3 separate regions of the Homo sapiens genome follow, and regions 1 and 3 are each linked to region 2. Evidence: promoter capture Hi-C in 16 types of primary human blood cells and fetal thymus (Javierre and others, 2016). All regions are on one chromosome and are shown on one strand. Each heading gives the region's core, a stretch centred on a gene start or on the middle of the fragment in contact. The rest is flanking DNA. Distances are from core to core; before and after follow the strand shown.

What was found. The method cuts DNA at HindIII sites, captures the fragments that hold promoters and counts their contacts. A CHiCAGO score of 5 or more calls a contact.
Region 1: a fragment that was not itself captured here is called in contact with the fragment with the promoter of TTBK2 in region 2 in 2 of 17 cell types (M0 macrophages and megakaryocytes); the score reaches 6.1 in M0 macrophages.
Region 3: a fragment that was not itself captured here is called in contact with the fragment with the promoter of TTBK2 in region 2 in 16 of 17 cell types (endothelial precursors, erythroblasts, megakaryocytes and 13 more); the score reaches 30.3 in endothelial precursors.

Annotation. Positions count from the first base shown.
Region 1 is chr15:42,673,572-42,677,240 of GRCh38, forward strand. STARD9 (StAR related lipid transfer domain containing 9) reads left to right here. Exons shown (of 33, transcript NM_020759.3): 17 at 869-920; 18 at 1,256-1,393; 19 at 2,093-2,175; 20 at 2,301-2,404. Among named protein-coding and RNA genes, the nearest start is that of CDAN1, 62 kb to the right of the region's middle. The HindIII fragment of the contact is 9,626 bases long and covers 1-3,669 here.
Region 2 is chr15:42,918,882-42,922,925 of GRCh38, forward strand. It overlaps TTBK2 (tau tubulin kinase 2), which reads right to left and starts at 1,897. Exons shown (of 15, transcript NM_173500.4): 1 at 1,557-1,897. RefSeq lists enhancers at 1,215-1,715, 1,716-2,216, 2,419-2,518 and a silencer at 1,489-1,898. The HindIII fragment of the contact is 8,148 bases long and covers 1,287-4,044 here.
Region 3 is chr15:42,737,781-42,741,511 of GRCh38, forward strand. It overlaps TTBK2 (tau tubulin kinase 2), which reads right to left. Exons shown (of 15, transcript NM_173500.4): 15 at 950-3,731. It overlaps TTBK2-AS1 (TTBK2 antisense RNA 1), which reads left to right and starts at 1,338. Exons shown (of 3, transcript NR_186317.1): 1 at 1,338-1,455; 2 at 3,673-3,731. The HindIII fragment of the contact is 792 bases long and covers 1,894-2,685 here.

The DNA.
Region 1 (3,669 bases), core at 336-2,835, 250 kb before region 2:
TCATCAATAAAAAGGAGATGTTAATACCTGTATTTTGAGTTGTTAAAGGATAAAGTAATATGATTTGTATAAAGTACTCAGCATAATGCCTAGGACATATTGAATAGTCAATAAATGATAAAGATATGTCTAAAATTTAGCATCCCGGTTGCCATGTTGCTGCCTTTTCCTAACATAGCTATGTGGGTCTTAAGCAAATTTGCCATAATCTGAGGTCTAAAAGGCCTTGTCTTCAACTAATCCACTGATTCATTTGTACTAACTCCAGTTTCCCCCTCCTCTCTTACACTCTCTTCCAGTTCTTTTTTATTCTAGAGGTGCTTTTCTCCTATTTGTGCTTTTACCCTTCTTAGAATCTGGTGTCTGTTAAACTTCATCTGCGGACCAAGAAGGTAAAAATCCTGTGTTTCCATAAATCTTCACAAAATGCTTGTTTGATTGAGACTTACTGGATCAAACTTGGACCACATCAACCTTTGCCCCTTAGGGAAAAGCCATACTTTTGCATGTACTTTCTCGGACTAGAGAATTTTTCTGACCAATGGCTGTAACTATTCCCTAACTTTAGGCTGTGGGACAGAAAGGAGTTTGCCCACACTTGCTGGACTTTGCAAATAGCTTGGGCTGCTTTGTGGTATATTTTTTAGCTCTACCATCTCAGGGGCTTCCTGGGCTGTAGAGTGAGTGGGCAGAGGGTCAGAACAGCCGGGACCAAAGTTGAGAAGTGGTACCGACCAGGCTGGGATGGGATGAGAAGTGGTACAGATGAGGCTGGGAAGACAGTGAGAATATTCTAATGTGGACTCTCCTGTAGGGCAAGGCTCTGTCCCTTTTAATTCTCATTAAAATGGCTTTTTTCCCCCTTTAGGAAGGGACAACAAAAATAGGAAGGATTGACTCAGACCAGGAACAGGACATTGGTAAGTGGCAGAGTATATGAGTCCAGCATTTTGGGGCTAGTATTTGTGCCCGAAAGGTTTCTTCGAGGACTTTGATGATGCTCTGAGAAGAAGGGAATCATTGGCGTATTCAGGGCCTGCTTCTCTTTCTGCTGCTAGGTTTCAGGTCTGGGACGTCACAGGGGGAGACCCACGCAGTGGGAGGATTTCAGGTCTGGGTGGTTTCAGGTCAGCTCTTCCTCTTTTATTATGGTATGAGGTCTTCCAGATTTTGGATTCTGATCTCACAGAAAGAAATGGAGAGGGTGTTTCCCTGCATCGTCCTCCCACCCAAGTGACCACCACCTCTTTTGTAGTCCTGCAGGGTCAGTGGATTGAGAGAGACCACTGCACTATCACCAGTGCCTGTGGTGTAGTTGTTCTACGACCTGCCCGTGGGGCCCGCTGTACAGTCAATGGCCGGGAGGTCACTGCCTCCTGCCGTCTGACTCAAGGTAGGACTGTCTGTAGCCCTGTTTATCCCAAGATGAGTGATGGACCAGCTCCAGTTTCATGGGCCCAAAGAGCTCAGTGAAGCAGGCTTTAAAAATGGATCACCCAGCCTCTGCACCCTGAAGTCTGAAGATTTTCTAATATGATCCTATTCCCATAAACAAGCCTTAATTCCAAAGTCTTGGAGTGAAGAATGACTGTATGAAATTTGTACCTGTGTTAATTAGCTCTGTCTCCCTAGGAAAGTCTCTGAGCCTCAACTTTCCTCATCTATAAAATGGGGATAATAATAGAATCATTGTGAGGATTGAATGAACCTTATAGTTCTTAACAGTGTGCTTTGCACTCTGTAAACACTCATTATCATTATTACTTTAATTACCGCTACTGTTATTAATCTATGCAAATTCTGTCTGTTCTTTTGAGACTGAGCTGAGATTCCTCCTCTTCCATCAAGTGTTCCCTGACTACTCCACCTGGAACTCAACTTCCTTTCCCTTGGAATAGTAGAGTTCTTCCTGTCTGTCTTATTAATTCAAGATGTATGCTGTGAGATGCAGAATTAATATGTATCTTATCAACTCAGCAAAATTATCAGTTATCGAGGGCATGACTTTGTCTCACAGAGCAGTGCCGTACACATAGTATGTACTCCAAAACATGAGCTGTTGATTGAATTCTCATTTGTCTCTGTGCTGCAGGAGCTGTCATAACCCTGGGGAAGGCACAGAAGTTCCGATTCAACCACCCAGCAGAGGCTGCTGTCCTGCGGCAGCGAAGGCAGGTTAGCAGGGCTGTGTTTTCTAGGTTATTGCTGGCCTCCCTGTTTCCACCTTTTAGATGAAAAGCCAAGCTGGGAGAGGTGGAGGCGATGACAGCAGCCTCACTGTGCTTTCTTCCTTGTTCAAGGTTGGAGAGGCTGCTGCTGGTCGTGGCTCGTTGGAGTGGCTGGATTTGGATGGAGATCTCGCTGCCTCCCGGCTGGGTCTCTCCCCTTTGCTTTGGAAGGAAAGGTAAGAAATAGCTGCTTATACTGATGTGGAACCTACTGGGTTCGCTTCTTAGTCCATGACAGCATGGATCAGGGTGGGGGTGGGGGGTGATTAATGTAGCAGCCAAGGTCTGAATGAGCCCTTGTCTGAATCAACTTGGGCAAGTCATTTGATGATGCTGAACTAGCTGCTAAGTTCGTAGTTGGCAGGGAATTGGTCTTGGCCCTTGTTCATTTCCTCTTTGGTATTTCGACTTTTTTCATCACTGAAAGAGGTACATTATTTGATGTTCCTGTGGCCACTTTTCTCTCTCCACAAAATTTAGCTGTGCTGTGTTTGTGGACATCTTTGTTCTGAGCTTACCTTCCCATATACTCCTTTAAGTTCTGGCCTGTGTGTGAGCTCATAGTATATGTCACGTAGTGTATGTGAGCTCATAGCTTCCAGAACGTATGGCTTTCTCTGAGTTTTTAAAGATAGTGTGTGACTGAGAAGGCTTTCTTTCTCATAACCAAGAATCCAGAACTGTGCATAGAGGGGCAGAAACTATAGGAACAATATGAAAATATCTTTTGGTTCTACCCTCTCATACCCACTTTGCCTGCATTGTAACTATGAAACATTGAGTCAGAGTTTTATATGGGATTGATGGCAACTACTTTTCTACTTCATACTTCATCCGTTTCTACATAAAACACCCTTCCCAGATCCAGAAGCCTTGCAGATTTGGTACTGGGAGTCCTTCTATTCCTGTACGTCAAAGTGACCTCTGCCTTAGAGATTTCCTTTAGAAAATTTCAGCAGGGGACTTGGTGCCTGTGACATCACTGGTGTTGGGAGGCTGCCAAACACCTTGAGCACAGGGTCTCAGTAGTTATGATGGCCCGTAGTTTCTTCAGAAGGATCCAGCAGTTCTTTCCTCAGGCCAGCAGCATTTGATGGCAGATGAAGACAATCTTATGTCTGACCTTGGCAGTGAGGAATGTTGGATACAGGAGCAGAAGTGCTCTGATCAGGGCTGGGCACGGTGGCTCCTGCCTGTAATCCCAGCACTTTGGGAGGCCGAGGTGGGTGGATCACAAGGTTAGGAGATCAAGACCATCCTGGCTAACATGGTGAAACCCCGTCTCTACTTAAAAAAAAAAAAAAAAAAAAAAAAAAAAGCTGGGCATGGTAGCACATGCCTGTAGTCCTAGCCACTCAGGAGGCTGAGGCAGGAGAATCACTTGAACCCAGGAGGCAGAGGTTGCAGTGAGCCGACATTGCGCCACTGCACTCCAGCCTGG
Region 2 (4,044 bases), core at 647-3,146:
GATAATGAGCAAGATATATTATTCTCAGCCCCCTAACCAATGTACAAATTTGCATCAACTTGATATTATATATTAAATTAATGAAGTTATGGACTTTAATTTCTTCTGTGTCTAAAACTGGAAGAGGGAAGAAAGCATTTCCTAACATTCTATCATAAAAGAAAAATGTTAAGAGAAACTTTCCTTTAAAACCATGCTTCATATGTCCCCTTCGGTGTCTTGATAAAATGTTATCATACAGGAAAACATAAGCTTCTAAATCAAAGATTTCCTTCAATGTTTTCAATTTGCATAGATCACAATATAACACACACATTATTTGAAACATTTTTTGACTTCAGACAAATGCCTCAAGATTAATCATATTAAGCTATATTTGTCATCATTACTGCTTCTTTATTTAAAAAAAAAAAGGAAATAAAGCAAGCAATACATAGCATTCAATTCCCTTGATAAGTTAAAATCATTTCCCCCTTCTATCCCCAAATGAACTTTATTCTATTCCATTTAGCCAAAGGTACACAGCCAACACATCTTTGTGTTATACTGTGGCAAATCAGGGTTTAGATACCAATGCAACTATTATCAATGGCTCAGAACCAAACATTGTTAACAAAACACACTGAGTGGATCCTCCCTCTGCGTGTGTGTCTACATGTGCCCATTCATAACATGACCCTCCTACACACACAGAAACTCAATTTCTACTGAATTACAAAACATCTTCACATTATTAGAAGTGTATAATAAAACTGTCCTCTTTAATGTTCAAAGAAAGAATAATTTCTAAAGCGATGAGAGAGAAGAGTTAATACCAGGATTGCTGCTACCCATCAACTTTAATTCAAAGCAAAGTACAACTCAATGTCATTTTTACCTCTACTGTAGCCTCGACGGATACAAAATTAACTTCGCTGTAGAATAAAGTATCCTGGCATCCCAATGGATTATTTACTTCTCCGATTTGACAGAACATATACGTGAGTCTTTTGTCCCTCCCACAGCATCCCAGGGTGTCAACATCATCTCTGCCACAGCAAATGACGAGCAAATCCCTCAGATCATTACTTCAGCACCCTAAGTACAAGAAAGTCGCGGCCTTCACTGTCGTTACAACACAGCAAACAGATTCAGTAGTCCCATGTTCCTTTCCATGATAGTTGGGGAGGCGGGGTGGGAAATAAGCGCTCAGATTTCCTAGGAATCCTTCGTGTTCGGTGCTGGTACCAGAAGTGGCATGGGTACAAGTGATATGTGGGTCACCCACAGAGAGAGACGCAGAACGAAGCTTCGTGACCCTCCAAGTTCAGTGAAGACACCCAAAGCCTGGGGCAAAACGAGGCGGCAGCCTTCGGGGAAATCGGGCAGAACCAGAACGATCTCCGAGATGGAGAGTGACGGGGTCTGGCACGAGCCCCGGGCTTGCAGCGAACTGAAAGTCCCCGGTACCCCTCCCCTCCTCAGCAGGCTCGGTCACTCGGCGAGGGGTGCGGCCGGAGGAGGGGGTCGAGACTGGGGGAGGGCGGCGCCCTGGGGGGTCGGGGGGTGTGTCCTACCTGGGCCGTGGCGGACGCAGGGGTTTCTGGAGGAGGGCTCTGGTCCAGCTCAGGACCGGGACCGGCGGGGGTTAACCCTCGGCAGGCGGGACCGCCACTGCCTGCCCATCCCCCACCGCCGACTGCGGCGGGACCCGAGCGCGGCTTCCAGGGCCGGCCGGCTGGGTAGTCCCCTGGGGTACCGTCCGCGTTTACTGGCGGCGGCGGCGGCGGCTGCTGCTGCTGTTACTGCTGCTGCCGGCTCCCCCAAGCCGCTGCTCTTGTGCCAGCACCTGCTCCCCCTCCTGCCGCCGCCGCCGCCTCGTCCCCACCGCTCCCATCGCCGCTGCGGCGACTACTGCAGAGCCCGCTGACCCGACCCGACGTTATTCTCCCCCCTCGTAACCCGACACAGCCTAGCCCACCTGCCCTGCCAGCGCGCACGCCCACCTCTCCGCTACAGGTGCTGATTGGAGAGTGCGTTCCGAACTCGCAGCGTCGGTTGGCTAGTCCCATTGCCTATCACGAAGGGGGCGGAGAGTCGGGCAGAAACCGTCTCCGCCCCCCACCGGAGAATTGCCGCTATCTTCAGGTTTGCCTGAGAGGGCGAGTTACCGGGAAAGGAGCATCACAATGGCAGCGCGCATGCGCCTAGGAATTCTGGGCCTCGTAGTTCCAGCCATAGCCGCAACTCCCCGCCTGTCCCGAGGAGAGAAGTAGGGCTTCCGAGACAAGTAGTTTGCGCACATAGGTGTTCTCCTAGCGTGACAGTTAAATTGGTTATAGAGGGATGGTTGGGACCCCATGGTTGGGCTTTTCGGAATAAAATCGGAAATGCTTTGTCACGATACGAAATTACACACTGAGGCAGTCGCGATGAAGGGCCCAAATCGTGAGGCCCTGCAAGCCTTAAGGATCCATCCTCTTCCTCAGCATCAGCGCTGACAGCATCCCGCAAATTGGCGCCGTCCCCAGAACCGCCTAACGTGAAGCTAATCATCTTTGGGGGACTGGGGAAGGGCCTTAGGTGTGACGAGGAAAGGAGATGGGCACTTCCATAAACGAATGTCAACTTGGAGACCGGAGTGTCCTTACGGTTTCACAACCCAAGAACAAGATTTCATTCCCTTTGTGAAACACCACCAGCTAAAGACTCAATGGCCAGCCCCGGTGCACACCAGTATGCGATGCTGAGCAAGTGTATGCGGGAGGTGCTCAAAGACTTTCAAAGAAAAGCGAGGAGGGCGGAGCAAGGACGCTGTGCAGGATGCGTTTCTATTTAGTGTTGTGTCAGTCGCTTTGGCGAAGGAAAACCTTAAGATTAAGCACCTCTCCCATCTTTGCCCACCAGTGTACAGTAGAGAAAACACATGAAAAACGCTAAACAGCTTTCCTAAGGCTATAAACTAATCAGTGGCAAAACCAAAACTCAGGTCTCTCATACGCCCCACATCTAATGTCCTTTCTACTTAAGAATCACAATGATCCCCAGGGTTCTGCCATGAATGGAAAGAATGTAATGAATTATGAACTTCATTTTTACTTTAAATCCTTTTCTTCACTCAAGTGACATTGTCATTAAAGCTGATTAAGAATATAGAAAGGTAAATGACTAATCCTATATTCAATCTTGGAACTGTTCCTATAGAATCTGTTTCTTCTTGCTCAGGAAGTGCCACAGCCTCTTGCCATTCTTTTTAAAAACAGCAGGCATCTCTACTCTCTGTCATGTCCAGATCCTTGGATTGAAAGCAGGACAAAATGTACATTAAAGGCAAGTGATGATGCAGCTCATCTTGTTCTATGCAAACATAAAGATGTTGCCAAATTGTTTTTTATTTCTACTGATTAAAACCACACGTTACTTTTTCTATTACTATGTCTAATAGAGTACTTCATTCATTTCAGAGTATTGACCAATCACATAATTTGAATAAGAAAACATTAGGGTTTCTGTAAATATTTTTCTTTAAAATTAAAGAAGTTTATAGGGGCCAGGCACAGTGGCTAATGCCTGCAATCCCAGCACTTTGAGAGGCTGATGTGGGAGGATCACTTCAGTCCAGGAGTTCAAGACCAAACTGGGCAATGTAAGGAGACATAAGGAGACTCCTTCTGCACACACACACACACACACACAAAATGATCACGGAAGCATGGATTTAAAATTTTTTTTAATTAGCCGGGCATGGTGGCATGCCCCTGTAGTCTCAGCTATTCGGGAGGCTGAGGCAGGAGGATCGGTTGAGCCCAGGAGTTCAAGACCAGCCTGGGCAACATAACAAGACCTTGTCTCTACACACAAAAAATTTTTAGTTAGCCAGCCCTGTCTCTACTAAAAATACAAAAATTAGCCAGGTGTGGTGGCATGCACCTGTAGTCCCAGCCACTTGGGAGGCTGAGGCAGGAGGATTGCTTGAGCCCTGGATGTCAAGGCTGCAGTGAGCTATTATCGCATCACTGCACTCCAGTCTGGGCAACAGAGATACCCTGTCTTTAAAAAAGAAAA
Region 3 (3,731 bases), core at 1,040-3,539, 180 kb before region 2:
GGGTTTACATGAGGTTAATATTTCAACTACTTTGCAGTTTAGATGTCAGTAAGCATATCATGATTAGCTTCTGGGAGCTTGAGGTTTGTATTTTTGGGTTTGGTGTTTTTTGTTTTTGTTTTGTTTTTTTTGAGACAGGGTCTTGCTCTGTTGCCCAGGCTGGAGTGCAGTGGCGTGAGCACGGCTCACTGCAGCCTTGGCCTCCTGGGCTCAAGCAATCCTCCCGACTCAGCCTCCCTAGGGCTATAGCCCAGCTAATGTTTTGGCCGGGAGAGGGCAGCAGATCCAAAGTGCTGGGATTATAGGCGTGGGCCACCACGCCCGGCCTGAGTAATTTCTTAATCTCCTTTATTTAATTTTATTTTGAGATGGAGTCTCGCTCTGTCACCCCCGGGGCTGGAATGCAGTGGGAGGCAGAGGTGGGCGGATCACGAGGTCGAGAGATGGAGACCATCCTGGCCAACATGGTGAAACCGTGTCTCTAATAAAAATACAAAAATTAACTGGGCGTGGTGGCACGCGCCTGTAGTCCTAGCTACTGGGGAGGCTGAGGCAGGAGAATCGCTTGAACCTGGGAGGCGGAGGTTGCAGTGATCCAAGATCACGCCACTGCACTCCAGCCTGGGTGACAGAGCGAGACTCCATCTCAAAAACAAAACAAAACAAAAAAACCTGAGAGAGGATTTTGAAGGTTGCTGCTCAGTGACAAATCAAGCAAGGGAATCCAAGCGGAGAAAAACAGATGGCACGAACATTCCATGTCAAACCAAACCAGGAGGGGTGAGGCAGTGCCCTTGTGAATGCCTCCTGAGAGTTGCTCTGGTTCAAAGGAAGGTTACGGGCGGAAGGATGAGGGTGGGGGTGCAGGAATCTCTCTAGTGGCAGAAGGGGTATTTCCTATGGAGAAGGAAAAAGTACCTCCAGCCAGACAGAATAATGGACTAAAAAGGAGCTTTTAATATTTTAATTTTATTACAGGAAAACATCTCCTAACTGCAGGGACACTTAACACCTAGCTTCTATTCAGTCCTGGGCTGCTTTTTCTAGGGAACTTCTAGATGTGGTACTGCATTTACAGTAACACTATCTGCTCCCCGTTGATCTTGTAACATCTGGTGTATTCAATAACTTTATTAAATTAGAAAAATATTTTCCACTTTTGAAATCCAGACCATCACACAAACAGAACTAGATTTTGCATGCGGAATGAATATTTTATTACTAGGTTATAAAAATAAAATACAAAATAATTTTAAAACAGAACTTAAAACACTGTACAAAGCTTTAATATGATACAAATGGGAAAATTAAATAAATAATTACACTTTTATGTACAGGTGGCCTATACAAAAGCACTCCATGTTTCTGCCGATACTCTGTCCTTGGTTGCCTGAGCAAAATTGTATAAAGGGAGCTGCTTGGAGGGGAAAGGAACACAATAAAACGCCTCTGGAGGTATTTCAAAGAGTAGTTTCTCATCTCTCTGATTTCAGGAAGAGGAGAAGAGAGGGAGAGAAAAGTGGAATTATTAAAGTCATCTAACTCATTGGTCTTGTTCAACAAGAAAGAATTCTGGTTTGTGGCTGAATCTGATTTAACAGCTGCCAATAGCTCATTACTTCTAAGATGTATATCTAATTCAAAACTAGATGCTCCCCCCTCCCTCTTTTTTCCCTAAAAGCTGGGAACTTGTAAGTAAATGGCCTAGTGAAATAGACACTGGCTATTTTAGAAAAAGGGTCAGAAGGTAGACCAGGAACTATGTATCAAGGAGAAGTAAGTGAGGCTCAAGCCCAGGCCACCTAGGCTGTGTTTATTCAGTCCACCCAATCCAATGTCAAAGCCCCAAGTGGGCCAGTGTTACCTTTATCTTCCCATCTTTGTATTTCTGAAAGCTTTGTCACCTCAGTGGACTACTTTGGCTGATGAACAGTTCAAATAGAAGATTGTTTTGGAAAAAGTCCCAAGGGCTTTCCCCTTCCTGGGTAGCTCCCTATAAGTCAAATTCAAGTTCTGGTAGCCTTGTTTACCCCTTGTAGGCGAGTGAAGAATGCCCACACAGAGTTCAGATGTGGTGAAATGCTGGGCATTGATTCCTCAGGATTTAAACTGCATATTATTAGAGAAAAAGAGCATCATATGGCAAGGGTAGTCTATATAAAAACTTGGTTTACTCAATGTTTTTAATTAGGCGAGTGAACACTTATGTACATAATATTAAATAATATTAAACTAATAAAAAGAGAGGTAAAATTCCTATCCATTGTTATTGTAAAATTATATCATCAGCAAATTCTATAGTCACATGGGCTCAAAGATCTGCCTCATCCAATCTTGTTCCCTAGGTCAAGGAACCCAGAGCCAGGGTACCTGGGAGGCATGGTCAGCATCGCCAGTGTACATATATTCTGTGCCCATACTACCACTAACGCTTCCAGCTGAAGAGGAGGCAGAAAACCGTTACATTGCACAGGGCCATGAAAGGAAAGGCTTCACTACTTTTACATGTTACCTTAAGACCAAAGATCCAGCAAAGTCTAAGGAAATATCCTAATCATTACTGTGTAATGTTACTTTTTTGCTATTCAGTGTCTTGAGATTGTGTGGAAATTCAAGGTGACCTGATCTTGTCACATACTTTAATTTTCTGATCCAAATTTGCTGAAAGGGAATAATTAAACATCAAGCTTAAATATTTTTTTAAGTAGGAGCAGACAATCACAACTGAATTAGAAGACGTCTTAATGGGCATAGACTTTATTTTTGTTTTACTTTTTTTTTTTTTTTTTTTTGAGACGGAGTCTCACTCTGTCGCCCAGGCTGGAGTGCAGTGGGGCGATCTTGGCTTACTGTAATCTTCTGCCTCCCAGGTTCAAGCGATTCTCCTGCCTCAGCCTCCTGAGCATCTGGGACTACAGGCGCCCGCCACCATGCCCAGCTAATTTTTTGTATTTTCAGTAGAGACGGGGTTTCACCCTGTTAGCCAGGATGGTCTCGATCTCCTCACCTCGTGATCTGCCCGCCTCAGCCTCCCAAAGAGCTGGGATTACAGGCATGAGCCACTGCGCCTGGCCTTGTTTTACTTTTTAAAATTTCTGTGAGCTGCTCTAGAAAACTAAAGGACGAAAACTTTACTGTCATAATTCCAAGTTCAGTCAGGGATTTCTCAGAATTGAGGTGTGCAGCATCCAGATTCCCCTTTATGTGGATAGGGATCCCTGTGCCATGTCTTGCACTTACCTAAGAACTATAGGAATTCTCCATGTACCTCCTACAGTTTTTCTAGCAGTGTTGGACAATGGATTCTAAAGGTTCCTGAGACTTTGTTAAATTTCTCATAATTCCAGAGGGAAGGCCAAAATATTGAGAATACTCAATGATAGGATGAGTTTCCACTCTACTTCCTTATCCTCAAGGCACACACCAGAGTTCCACTGGGTGAGGACAGGGAAGTAGGATGTCCCAACACCCTCTGAGGGTTTTCATGCATTAATCCCGCCATATGGGCTGATGGTTGGAACTGCCTTTAGTTCTCTAAGTAAAGGTCTAAAAATGCACCTGTGGTTTCTGAACTTGGGTATACGCTGATACATAAGGACTACCATAGAAGTTACATGCCTTAATCCTGTAATACTTTTGTGTGGTATCATTCTGCTAATATATTGTCCACAGGGCCAAACCCCAAGTTACACAGCGCAACAGTACTTGTCAACCACTCCATCTCCTCAGTG